2 separate regions of the Homo sapiens genome follow, and region 1 is linked to region 2. Evidence: promoter capture Hi-C in 16 types of primary human blood cells and fetal thymus (Javierre and others, 2016). All regions are on one chromosome and are shown on one strand. The core of a region is centred on a gene start or on the middle of the fragment in contact, and the rest is flanking DNA. Distances in the headings are between cores, read along the strand shown. Region 1 overlaps LOC105376652 (a long non-coding RNA gene). Region 2 holds the start of TP53I11 (tumor protein p53 inducible protein 11).

The links. The method cuts DNA at HindIII sites, captures the fragments that hold promoters and counts their contacts. A CHiCAGO score of 5 or more calls a contact.
Region 1: a fragment that was not itself captured here is called in contact with the fragment with the promoter of TP53I11 in region 2 in 11 of 17 cell types (monocytes, total CD4 T cells, non-activated CD4 T cells and 8 more); the score reaches 8.4 in monocytes.

The regions. Positions count from the first base shown.
Region 1 is chr11:45,120,424-45,123,123 of GRCh38, forward strand. The region is part of intron 3 of LOC105376652 (a long non-coding RNA gene); the gene reads right to left. It also overlaps a transcript of PRDM11 not described here. Among named protein-coding and RNA genes, the nearest start is that of PRDM11, 25 kb to the right of the region's middle. The HindIII fragment of the contact is 566 bases long and covers 1,003-1,568 here.
Region 2 is chr11:44,949,587-44,952,286 of GRCh38, forward strand. TP53I11 (tumor protein p53 inducible protein 11) reads right to left here and starts at 1,297. Exons shown (of 7, transcript NM_006034.5): 1 at 1,091-1,297. RefSeq lists silencers at 1,067-1,196, 1,227-1,486. The HindIII fragment of the contact is 12,322 bases long and covers 1-2,700 here.

The sequences.
Region 1 (2,700 bases), core at 36-2,535, 170 kb after region 2:
ATAAACTGCTGAAAGACAAAGACAAAGACAAACAGTAAAAAGCTGCTAGAGGAAAAAAGGAACCATTACCTTAAAAGAAGTAACAGTAAAACTGACCACTGGTCTTCACTAGAATCTATGGAAGCTAGAAAAAGAATATTGCCAACTTAGAATTCTATATCCACTAAAATGTCCTTTAAAATTAAAGGTGAAATATATTTTCATTAAAAAAAAAACCACATACAGAATCATCACCAGCAGACCAGTATCACAATAAATCAAAAGAGAGTCTGTCCTTCATGGTGAAGGAAAATGAGCCCAGAGAGAACAGACCACAGGAAGGAGTGAATAGTACCCAAGACAATAAGTATGTAGGTAAACATAAAACAATATTGATTACTTAAACCAGCAATAATGACAATGTATCTTCAGCTCATAATATATGTATGAGTACCAATATATGACAATAATAGCACAAAGGGCAAGAGCAGATAAAGTTGAGTTAAACTGTTGTAAGGTTCTTGCATTGAAGGTTCTTGCATTGTTCAAGAAGAAGTAACAGTGCAACCTTAAGGTAGACTGTAATAATTCAGGGATGCAGTTTAGATCCACTGAAAGAAAAAAAGAACATATAACCACGAAGCTAACAGAAGTGACAAAAATAGTCGATAAGTCAAGAAAGGCAGGAAAGGAGGAATTAAAAAACGAAGAATAGATGGTTCAAATAAAAATCAAATCACACGATGGTAGTTTGATACTACCAACTATATCAGCAATTACATTAATTATAAATGGATAAATAGTATAATATGAAATAATTGTCAGATTGAACTAAAAAAACAAGATGCAAATATTAGTTGTTTATAAGAGATACACACAATATAGGAGGACACAAGTTGAAAGGAAAAGAATGAAAAGATATTGCTGGAAACCATTAACAAAAAGCTGGTGTGGTTATATTACTATCTGATAAAGTAGACTTAAAGAAGTAACTTCCCCATATTAGTATGCTCCTCATTTCAAAGCTTCAAATATGCAAAGCAAAAGTAACAGAATTTTTAAAAAAGAAATGGGCAAATTCAAAATCAGAGTTACAGATTTAACACACTTCTCTCAGAAAATGCTAAAACAAGCAAGCAAACAAAAAACAGTGAAATACTGAATATTTAAACAACACAATTAAGCAATTTTATCTGGTTAATGTATATACAACATTATATTGAATAACTGCAGAATGAATATTATTTTGAAGTGCTTGTGGAACATTTACCACAATAGACTACACAATGGGTCATAAAGCAATTAACACAAATTTCAAAGAACTGAAATTATACAGAATATGCTCTCTAACTGGAGTGGAGTTAATTAGAAATCTATATAAAAAGGCAACTAGAAAATCTCTAAATGCTTGAAAATTAAGCAACACACTGCTAAATAGTCCATGGGCCAAAGGAAACATTACAACAGCAAATATTTAGAGTGGGATAATGAAAATTGTGAGCTGCATCTAAAGGCTGTGGTTACAGAAACATTTATAGCCTTAAATGCAATTCTTAGAGAAAAAGATATACGGAAAATTAATGAATCTAAGCTTCCCTCTCAGGAAGATAGATAAACAACAGCAAATTAAACCTCAAGAAAGTGGAAGGAAAGAAATAGTAAAGATGAAAGCAGAAATCAAATAGGAAAAAAAATACACAGTGGAGAAAATGAGCAAAGATAAAAGTTAGGCCTTTAAATAAGTAAATAAAATGTATAAACCCCTACTAAGAAGAGAGACACAGACAGACACACACACAGACACACACACACACACACACACACACACACACACAGAGAGAAACAGAATATCAGCTAAGAAAGTGGGTTATCAGTACAGGTTCTAGAGACATTTAAAAGATATCATGGTATTTTTTTTATTATTATTATACTTTAAGTCTTAGGGTACATGTGCACAATGTGAAGGTTTGTTACACATGTATACCATGTATACATGTATACATGGTATACATATGCCATGTTGGTGTACTGCACCCATTAACTCGTCATTTAGCATTAGGTATATCTCCTAATGCTATCCCTCCCCCCTCCCTCCACCCCACAACAGTCCCTGGAGTGTGATGTTCCCCTTCCTGTGTCCATGTGTTCTCATTGTTCAATTCCCACCTATGAGTGAGAACATGCAGTGTTTGGTTTTTTTGTCCTTGTGATAGTTTGCTGAGAATGATGACTTCCAGTTTCATCCATGTCCCTACAAAGGACATGAACTCCTCATTTTTTATGGCTGCATAGTATTCCATGGTGTATATGTGCCACATTTTCTTAATCCAGTCTATCGTTGTTGGACATTTGGGTTGGTTCCAAGTCTTTGCTATTGTGAATAGTGCCACAGTAAACATACATGTGCATGTGTCTTTATAGCAGCATGATTTATAGTCCTTTGGGTACATACCCAGTAATGGGATGGCTGGGTCAAATGGTATTTCTAGTTCTAGATCCCTGAGGAATCGCCACACTGACTTTCACAATGGTTGAACTAGTTTACTAGTCCCACCAACAGTGTAAAAGTGTTCCTATTTCTCCACTTCCTCTCCAGCACCTGTTGTTTCCTGACTTTTTAATGATCGCCATTCTAACTGGTGTGAGATGGTATCTCATTGTGGTTTTGATTTGCATTTCTCTGATGGCCAGTGATGATGAGCATTTTTTCATGTGTTTTTT
Region 2 (2,700 bases), core at 47-2,546:
CAGGGCGAAGGAAGGTAGAGCGAGGGGACCCAAGGCGAGCGCCCCGCCCCGCCCCGCCCAGCGGGGCGCGCCGGGGTGGGCGCGGCGTTCTGGCCCTTCCTCCACACAGCCTCCCCCGGGTAGGTGCGAGTGTTCTGCCCACGGCAGGGGCCCTAACCCACCCAGCGCCCGGCCAGTGGCCCCACACTGTACCCTTCCTGCAGATCGCGCGACTTTGGGGAGAGTGGGGGGCGTCTCCACCTGTGCGTCCCCTACCCACCCCCTAACTGGGCTAAGGCGCGGCCTGGGTTTCTGCCCGCCCCTTTCCAGCCTGGGGACGGGGGACTCTCTCAGCCTCGCCCCTCCCCCTGCAATCTGTCCCTGATGTCCCCGCTCCAGACACTCACCCACTTTCTGAGACCCAGGCCTCAGCGCCGGTGTCCCCCGGCGGTGAGCTCCGAGCCGTTAGGCGGCCCCGGGTTCTCCGGCCCAGGGCCCCTGCCCCCAGGCCCCCACCCCAGAAGGTCGGGCCAGACTTGTGGGCAGCGGGAACTCCGCCACCACCTCCGTCCGCGGCCCTGCGGGGGCAAAGACTGGGGGAACTCGCAAGTTTGCGCCGCGCACTCCTCCTGCCGGGAACAATGGCGGGAGGGGGAGGGGACAGAGAACCGAGCGCGGGGGACCGAGTCAGACCCCGGGGAGACAGAAACTGCTTTCGCTCCGTTTCTCTCCTGCTCTGAAGCAGAAAGCTCGAGCCCGAGAGGCAGTGGCCGAGGACGAAATAAGCAGTCCAGGAGGAGGGCGACCGCGGAGCCGGGGGAGAGGGGAAACCGAGTCAGAGGGAGGGGCGGCGAGGGGAGAGCGCGCAGGGGAGACGGAAGGGGCTGCGGGACGGCGCCTTGGGGAGCTGGGGAGGCGACCCCCTGGGGTCCCAGCGGGCTCAGCGGGTGCCGAGATGTCCCGGGGCGCCCGGTTAGCGCGCGCGGGGTCCCGGCCGCCCCTCTGCGGTCCCGTCGGCCGCAGGAGCCCCGCTGGGTTGCGCTGCGCAGGCGGCGGGCGGCGGGAGGGGAAAGTCCGCGGCTCGGAAGCGGCGGCGGGGAGCAGAACTTACGGGCCTCGCGCGTGCCGGCGCTGGGCTACGTGGAGCTGATGCCAGGCGGAGGCTCCGGGCTCGGACGCCTCACATCGCGCCGCCCGTGCCGGGCCGGGCAGTGCAGGGCAGGGCAGGGCAGGGCAGGGCAGGACAGGGCAGGGCAGGGCAGGGCCGGGCCGGCTGGACTGCGCGCGGCGCCCTGCGCGGCCGGGGCTTACCGAGTCTGGCGGCCCGCGCTGGTCCCTCCTCTCGGTTCCGCGCACAAGCCAATGGCGCGCCGTCCCCTCCCACGCGCCGGGCTGCCTCGCCCCCAGGGTGGCCGCCGGGGCGGGCGGGATGGGGGTTGGCGGGGAAACCAGGCTCCCGGCTCCCCCGCGAGGCTCTCCCGGGGGCCGCCTGCAGGGGGCGCACGCGCGCCCGAGAGAAGGCGCCGGGGGAGGAAGCCGCGCGGGGAGACCCTGGCGTGGCCCGCGCCGCCCAGGATGACTTTCCTGGCAAGTTCTGCAGACGGTGCCCCTTTCTTGGGACGATCAACGTAGATGGGCAAACCACACCATCTTAAATAGCCTTGCGGTGTCTCCCGGGCCCAGGCCGGTGCCTGAAATGGAAGGGACTGCTTTGGCTGGCGGTGATACCCAAGTGTGTAATAACACAGTCACGACAATAGTCACCGTTTGCTGCGCACTCTCTGATGCCAGACACCATATGCTAAAGGAGTTACAAGTATTAACTCATTTGATTTTCACAGCAACCCATAAGGGCGCTGTGCTTAGTCCCATTTTACAGGCCATGGTCGTTAAAGTTTGAGTTCACTCAGCCTTCAGGCTTCCAGCCTAGGCCCACCCTTCTCTCTCCCTGCTTGGTGTGACTTGGCCAAATAACATGACCCCACTGTCACTACGGCCACCTTCTTCATACTCCACCCTAAAATCCAGCCTCAGAGATGCTGCTGTCAGTTGCGCTGTCAGGAGGCTAGGATCTTATCTGGGGCTCTAGGACGCTTGTTGGCGCTACAGTTGTCAAACCTTTTGTCTCTACACATCCTATGGGGGGCTGGGGTGAGGATGAGGGTTGGGGGTCATGGAGGCTCTCTGGTGGCGTGTCAACCTGAGAGAACCAGGCTCCTACAGACAAGGCCCCACCCCCAAATTCTGGGCTCCTTCAACCCCTTATGGTGGGAAAATAATGTGCTCTCTCCCACCCCAACCCCCACCACCCTGTGCTCTCCTTAGAGAAATGCCTGGATCTCTTTCATCTGATCTGATGGTCACAGTGGGCCAGGAACCGGGGTGGGGGGCTGCGGGAAAAGGAAGGCAAGGCTGATGACATGCTCCATTTCACAAGTAAATAAGACAGAAAGAGGTGAGTGGCTGCCTCAGGCATCTAGCTAGGTGGGCATTCTGACTCCAGGTCTCGGTTCTGTCTGCACCAGTTCCTTAACGGTTAATAGAGCAGGCTCTGGAACCAGATCACCTAGGTTCAAATCCTGACTCTGCCTTTTAGTGCCTGTGTGGCCTTGGACAAAGTAAGTCACCTAGAGCAACCAATAGTAAGAACCGGCTATGGTTGCTGTAGAGATTTAGAGTTAATAGGAGCTGCTCATGTTTACTGTGCATGGACTCTGTGCC